2 separate regions of the Homo sapiens genome follow, and region 1 is linked to region 2. Evidence: promoter capture Hi-C in human tissues and cell types (Jung and others, 2019). All regions are on one chromosome and are shown on one strand. The core of a region is centred on a gene start or on the middle of the fragment in contact, and the rest is flanking DNA. Distances in the headings are between cores, read along the strand shown.

Region 1 (3,666 bases), core at 415-2,914, 1.0 Mb before region 2:
TTATTAATTTTTTTGAGAATTCACATTTATTGAATTACTGATGTGCTACAACATGGAATTTCTGAATTCCAAATAAATAAATTTCACTTTTTAAACATTTGTTCTGTTACTTTTTAACACCAACAAACTTGATAGCAGCCAGCTGCTGACCTGACAATGGGTTGACAACCTTCCCCCACTGGCTCTTCAGTCTGCTTAATCAGAAGTCCTTTGCTGCTTCTCATCCTCCCAGGGGATGGCCTACTGCCCTCCTTTCTGTACAATCTGGGCAAGCCGACTGGGATGGTAAGAGTGGTGTCAATGAAGCGGTCCACAGAGCTAGAGAGGCAATTTTCAGTGTGAGAGTCTAGGCATTTCCCTGGCTTCTCCACACATCCATCCCAGAACAGCTCCAGGAAGCGACACACCTGTGCTGCAACCCTGCTTCAACCACCTCGCCCAGCACTGTCATTGTCCACGTGAGTCTCAGGACCTCTCATTTTTCTTAAAGCCCCAGGAGCACATTTCACAATTTTATTTCACTGAATGCGTGTCCTGATATATTTAAACAGAATTGAAATAATAAACCCCCTGATTTAGTTTGAAAATTAAAACATGCATAGGTCCTAAACCAGCTTCAGTTGAGAAAAAAGTTACTTTCTACTCATAGAAAATCCAACATGAGAGATTTCCCTAAAACACTTTATTTTGCAACTACTTCAAAACATTGCAGCAATTTGAACAAAGATGTACTGGGTGATGCTCATGTTGTGCACAATGCTAGTCTGAAGATTTGAATTGTTAACTCCAGCAATTTCCATGACCAATTGGAATCTCTATTATTGATAATCAAAGTTGTCGTTTCCCTGAATCCTAGGGAGCTCAGGGCACTTGAATCCAAAAACGTCTGGGTGCTATGTAGAATACAATCAAACATTAACGGAAGGGAAGTGGGAGAGAGAGAAGCAGTATACTCATAGACAAAGTTTGCAAAAGGGTGAGCTAATAGAAAAGCAGCAGCAACAAGCACAGAGGCCATGCCTTGGGCAAGAGGCAGGAGAGGGTGTCCATACGGTGTTCTGCTTCTCTTTAGGGGAGCCCAGGGCAGGTGTTGTTGAACTTTCCCACCCTCATAGCTCTCAACTCTTGCATTTGTTTATTATGCCTGATCTGTTTAGTTACCTTGTCCAAAGGGAATTGCACCAATTACAAGGGCATGGAAATGAATGGATTGGTGGAGCTCTTTTCCTTGCAATTTTTCATACTGCATGGGGTTTTCATCAGGCAGCAGAAGGGGAAAGAACATGGAATAGTCCCCACGAACCTCCCTGGGCTCTACCACACATCTGCTGTGTTGAGGATGTAGAAGGTGAGGACGAGCCAAAAACAAACAAAAACAAAAACAAAAGGAGAATAGAAAGAAAAAGGAGCAGAAGCAGAAGGAAAATTGGATGGCACTGACAGTCCCCAGGTGACTTCCATGTGTCAGGCACAAGTAAAAAGGACTTGTGAAGCACCAGATTTATTTATTAAAGTATAAATACTTCAGTTCACCTAATCGCTACAACAACCCGTTGAAATGCCCATTTTTACAGGTGAATAAAAGAGACTCAGAAGCTAAATAACTTTCTTGTGGTCACTGGGATTCATACTCATGCCTGTTTAACTCTAAGGATTAAAGAGAAGGGGAGGGGATGATCAGAAAAGGTACCATGTGGCAATTTGCACTAACTCACTAACACAGAGTTAAGACGTCAGAAGAACAGGAGCTTCACTCTCCTTAGCTCATGCATATTCACTTTTCTTCCATAAACATAAAAAAAAGGTAAGCAGCTTCAGGGACCCAGAAGTAAATTATTGGTTTAATAAAATGCTGGCCTTTGGGTTTACTTTCTTTTAAAGACACAGTTTATCCGTCAAATTCCACTCTCGGTTTGTCTTATTCCAGGAAGGGTGTTCCTCCCTTCTGCACAAATGTGATTACAGGCAACTCTGCATTGGAAAGTAGTAAAAAAAAAAATGTGAAATCAAATTTTACCATTTATTTAAAAACTAACCACACCGCTAACATTTATTAGTGTATAACAATGGCAAGTTTAAACACACCTCCTGACACTGTAAAATGCTTGGAGGCCTGGACAGATCTACTGACTTTTTATCCTTTTTTTTCTTGCCAGCTCTGTCCTGTTTGGATGCAAGCAAGTGGCCCAAAGCCCTTTCTGTTTTTAAGAGTTTAGGGCCAGGCACAGTGGCTCATGTCTGTAATCCTAGCCCTTTGGGAGGCCAAGGCAGGCAGATGGCTTGAGTCCAGGAGTCCGAGACTAGCCTCGGATACGTGGCGAAACCCTGTCTCTACAAAAAACACAAACATTAGCCAGGCGTGGTGGCATGCACCTGCAGGCCCATCTACTTGGGAGGCGGAGGCAAGAGGATCGCTTAAGCCCAGGAGGCAGAGGTTTCAGTGAGCCAAGATTGCACCACTGCACTCCAGCCTGGGTGGTAGAGTAAAACCCCGTCTCAAAACAACAACAATGAAAACAGTGTTCTAAAAATTAAAGATGTGCCGGTCAGATTTTAAATTCAAATTTTCTTCCAGGTGCCTATTGAGGAAAATGAAGGATGATTTTGTTGGAAGCCTGAGTTGATTTCACCCTCTACCTGGTGATTCTTCTGGACTTACATTGCATGGTAATTAAATTAACATAGTTTACTCTAAATCAGGTTATTCCTTTGGAATATGCCAAATAATGGTCATGAAGATATCTGGGAAACGTTTTGTTGTTATTGTTGGTGGTGTTCATCTTTTCACAAATTTAAACTCCAATTATATTTGAGTATGTGGATGCTCTTCACACAAGCCTGTGCTAGTTTGTTCCAGGTCTTGTGGTAGTAGAATGTGTGAAGGCTCAAGTTTACAAACAAATTGTATTAGTGATGATTCTTATGAGGTCAAGGATGAAATTAAAATTCTTAATTACAAATCATCGGCACCTCCATTGTCAGGGGCGTGCTGGGATTCTCTGAACAGCTGCGTAATGATCCTCTGTGCTTCAGTGGCGTTGGCATGCCTTTGAGCTTGTTCCCTATTCACCTTTTATTTATAGCACCACGAGCGTGTTTATTTTCATTCTTATAAAAACTTGATTTGCTGACTGCAAGATATGACAAAGCTTTCATATCAAGGACAGAGACCTGTGATTTTTGGAACAGATTGTCTTTTATGGGATGATTCACCATGGACTCTTTAGTTAAAGCGATGGGCTCCTTTGTTTTTAGCTCTTTTTTTTTTTTCTTTTTAGTTTTTTAAAAATTTGTTTATTGGTTGGCGTTAGCCTTTGTTTTTAGCTCAACTAACCCGACTAGCTGTGGATCTTGAATTCGCTTTACCTGCATAGACAACTGAGGGAAAGCATGTTTCTGGATGTAGGGTGACGTTTTTAGTTTTTGATTAGCTGACATATTCTGGTGGCCCAAAGAATCACAGGATTGTAGAGTGGCAAAGCCCTTGAAAGTTAACCCACTCAGTTTCCAGCTTGGGGTTCTTGATGCCAGGGATCTGAAAAGATGGTGATGGGAAAGAGAGCAGGCCAGTCCGGGCAACAGAGTGAGACCCCATCTCCACCAAAAATTTAAAAATTTGCTAGGTGTTGTGGAGCATGCCTGTAGTCCCAGCTACTCAGGAGGCTG
Region 2 (4,104 bases), core at 1,500-3,999:
AGGGGCTGGTGAGGGCTCTGTAGTGGACCTGCCCTCCTTGACTTACTAATTGAAAGCAACTTCTGCAGCTGTTATTGTTGTTGAGGTTGTATTCCACCAGCAGGTTGGAGACACAGGCAAAATATAACTAGATTTCAGCCACATGTTTGGACATGGTGCCAGAAGACTAGTTCATGCTGATTCCTGCATTTCTCCCTGTTATTTGAGGACAGGGGCCATCCTCTATTCAACTCTGTATCTCCAGCAAAGCACTGAACATAGCAGATGCTCAATTAACATATGTTGAAGTAAACTAAAGGCCTGGGTTCAAATTCCTACCCTATCATGTATTAGCTAGATGCCCCCATCCACTTCTTTGGCTTCAACCCCGTCTTTGATCTAGAGACTTTCAAATCTCAATCATTGACCTTGTCTTTCCAAAACGCCAGACCCAACTAACTCCTTGCCTCCTGGACTTTTCTACCTTGATGTTCCATAAGTAGCTCAAAATCAGTATGTCCCCCCTGAACTCATCACTATCTCTCCTCAAACTCCTACTCTTCCTCCTGTGAACCCTAGCTTCGTTAATGGTGTCACCATCTCTCTGGGTACCCAAGCAAGAGACTAAGTGGGTCTCTCTGCTCTTTTTCATTTATTTACTCATAAGATCCTTCCTGCTGACTCTGACTCAAAAATGTTGAAACCTCATCTCCATTCCCACAGCTGCTTCTGTTCAGACCCCCATCATATGTTATCTGGATTATTACATCAATCTCCTAACTGGTTTCTCTGCCTCTGATCTTCCTGTTTCAAAACATCTTCTTTGGTCATAACCAAAGGTGTCTATCTGAACTGAGGCATAATTATATCACTTCCTTTCTTTAAAACATCCCAAGGCTCCTCATTGTCTTAAGAATCCAAATTCCTGACAACTCAGAGGGTCTGTCACAATCTGGCTCCAACAGCCCTTTCTGGTCTCATCTCATATAAAACTGACCCCTCTTATCCCAAATAGGATGGTCTGCCCTAGCTGTTTAAAAATTTCCCCCCTCCCCCAGATGGAACCATAGCATCTCTCTTTGCATAGAATGGTACAGAATCTTCTCTCCCATCTCCTTATTGCTGCTGCTCCTTCCCCTGGGAGCCTCCCCTGTGTATTGGAAGTCTAGCCATGTGTCACCTCCTTTGAGCACCCTTCTTGGGGCAGAACCACTTATTTCTCATAGTGCTTAGTCCATACATCTATGGTAGCACTTATTGGATCCTTGTGTGTGTGTGTGTGTGACCTCAGAGCTTAAGATGGTCCCTGGTGCATAGTGATGACTCTGTCAATGTTTGGGACAAGAGTGAAGTTCTAAATAGGGCACAATGGATTTAACTGCTGGCACCAAATCCCTCCCCTGTGAAAACAGCCCCAGCCTCTGAGTCCTGTCTACAGTCTCAGCCCACCCCAGACCCATTCTCTTTGCAGGGATCCTCAAACCTCCCTTTGCAAGAAGATCTTCTGGATGCTTTTTTCACAGGTAGAGCATCCTTCCTGCGCCACAAAAGGTTGAGTGGGTAGTGATCAATTCATGCTCAGTGAATTAGATTTGTTCAGAGAGGCCCAGAGATGGGGTAATGATCCCATGGGTAAAAGATCCATGTCTGGAGAAAGGATAGGTGTGCACCTAGAAGAAGAGAAGAGAGTGGGGCTCATTTATATTCTGAGATTTAAATGAGATGTGGCGGGAGGACTCTTCATCCCATCTGATTAAACCTACACAAGAGTTCATGTGGGGGCACACAAAGACTAACTAAGGATATTCTCTACGTTCTACTCAACTTTTGGGATGTAGCTTAGAATCCTAAAACACAGTACTACAGAAAGCCTCGAAACTAGGCTAGATTCTCCTCCCATCCCATCCAGGCTTCTCCGCAGCAGAAATAGGTGTTTAATTAAATGGAATAATATAGTTCTCCTTTCATACCTCAGGAGATCAATGAGCCCATAGCTAGCACTCACATATTTATAGACTGAAGAAATGAACATATTCTGGGGCTCAAGGAGATCACCACCTACTGGGGAGGCAGGGGAGAAGGGAGGATGCTAGGACCCTGCTATCCCCACTACACGGCACATTGCAGTCTAGGGTTCACCGTGCAGTAGAAAGGAGAAGCAAAGCGATGAAACCCTCGTGGGATTCGTGAAGGCTTTATGGAAAAGCGATGTGATGATCAGTGGGATTTCTAGGGGGAAGGGATCCAGGGCCAGCAACCAGCTGAAGGAAAGGCTGAAAGGAGGGAAATGCAGGGTACGATCTGGATGGAGTTAAAATGGCAGAAAACTGAGGCTGAGTGAGAGGTCTGGTACTGAGGTGGGGATCGGAGTTCCAGCACTGGCCTTTGACAGCCTCTGGGTCCCAGGTGGAATGGGTAGGGCCAGAGCCCTTGCCTTCTTCTCCAATCAACACCAGGGGTGTGGTGTCTTAGGCAAGGATGGGTGCTGTGCGCCCTGCCGCCCACCATAGGCAGGGCCTGGGAACCCGGGGAGGACTCTCCCCACCTCCAGCCTCCGGCAGTGTCCGCCAGGCAGGGCGGGGGCCAGCGCTGGTGTTGAGTAGTGGACCCCAGGGGGATGACTAAGCCTTGCCTGCGAGCAGACTCGAGCATGCCAAGTTATGAGACGATGATAACTCTGCCCCGAGCCTCTGGGGTCGTGGCCGTGGGCCGGCAGGGGCGAGGCGGGCGTCCAGAGGGCGGATAAAAGGGGCCGCGCTGCGCCGGGGCCGCTTTCTCCGCGCGGTGCCTGCAGGGCTCCCAGCGAGTGGCAGCTTGGGAGGGGCCGCCCGGGCGGTCAGACTGGCACCTGAGCGGCCACCGCGTCCCGGCCAGGCGGGCAGACCGACCCCCTCCTCACCTCGCGCGCGGCTGACGCAGGCAGGGCGCCCGGCCCCTCCTGGGGACCATCAGGTGCCGGCTGGGGGCTGTAGGCACCGGACGGAAGCAGGCGGTGTGAGGACCGACGACGCGGGCATGGCGGGGGCGGCCTGCGAGCCGGTGGCCAGGCCGAGCCTGACCTCCATCTCGTCTGGGGAGCTTCGCAGCCTGTGGACCTGCGACTGCGAGCTGGCCCTGCTGCCGCTGGCTCAGCTGCTGCGCCTGCAGCCCGGTGCCTTCCAGCTGAGCGGCGACCAGCTCGTGGTGGCCAGGCCCGGGGAGCCGGCGGCGGCGCGGGGGGGCTTCAACGTCTTCGGTGACGGCCTCGTGCGCCTCGACGGGCAGCTCTACCGCCTCAGCAGCTACATCAAGAGGTGGGTGGCCTCGCCGTGCGCCCTGGCCCGTCGCCTGGTACCCGCAGACGCCTCCACCCGGCTGCGGTCTCTGGGAGCCTGGGCTGTCCTCGCTGCCTGCGACACCGCGTGGCCCCTTGCTCCGTGCGCTTCTAGACTTTCCTTCTGCTTCTATCACCCGGAGCCTGCACGCTCGCCCTGGTTCTTCTGCCTCTTGCACTGACATTTTGCAGCTGCTGCTTGAAGCCGCCCAGAAGGGCATCAGGACTGGGGGCGAGGGGGAGGGCAGGGGCCCCCCAGCCAGAGCTCATGAGTGGCAGATGCTTCTCCCATTCTGGCTCCTTAACTGGGTCAGATGAGCTCAAATTGGGAGCACACCCTTTAGGGGCTGTCTGCAGCTCTGCAAGACTCACATCCTGGCTTTGGAGCATGGGTGGCGGTGAGGAGCAGGGGGCATGCACCATTCTGAGCACTGCCAGCCCTCTCCAGTGAGGAGACCGAGTGGAGAAGCATGCAAAAGCTCAAAGTTTCCCATCTCTGGCCTCACTTCGTGTTTCAAAAGTAAACAAATAAACCGCAGCTGAGAAGGGAACAAAGCCCCTGGAAGTCCAGCCCGGGGCCATGTGGGCTGTGGAAGGCACAGATAAGTTCTGGGGAAATAAGTGCGAAACCTGAGGGCCTTAATGGGAAGGAGGCCCCCAGGATGCTTGACTGTTGTGGCCAGAGTGCCCCCAAGCTCTTCTTGGCAGACCGGCAGGATGTGGCCCAGCCATCTGAAGCAGGCTTTGGTGCCACAGGGTAAAGGAGGGCACTTCAGGCCTGATTCCACATGGCCTCAGGCCTCCAGAGTTCA

The links. The method cuts DNA at HindIII sites, captures the fragments that hold promoters and counts their contacts. A contact is called where the count stands out against the background at its distance.
Region 1: a fragment that was not itself captured here is called in contact with the fragment with the promoter of MEDAG in region 2 in 1 of the 25 tissues and cell types used here (lymphoblastoid cells).

Annotation. Positions count from the first base shown.
Region 1 is chr13:29,865,719-29,869,384 of GRCh38, forward strand. It overlaps the pseudogene TIMM8BP1. Among named protein-coding and RNA genes, the nearest start is that of UBL3, 17 kb to the left of the region's middle. The HindIII fragment of the contact is 4,331 bases long and covers 1-3,666 here.
Region 2 is chr13:30,903,522-30,907,625 of GRCh38, forward strand. MEDAG (mesenteric estrogen dependent adipogenesis) reads left to right here and starts at 2,750. Exons shown (of 5, transcript NM_032849.4): 1 at 2,750-3,272. The coding sequence starts at 2,995. All of the region lies in intron 2 of TEX26-AS1 (TEX26 antisense RNA 1), which reads right to left. RefSeq lists an enhancer at 3,351-3,852. The HindIII fragment of the contact is 12,319 bases long and covers 1-4,104 here.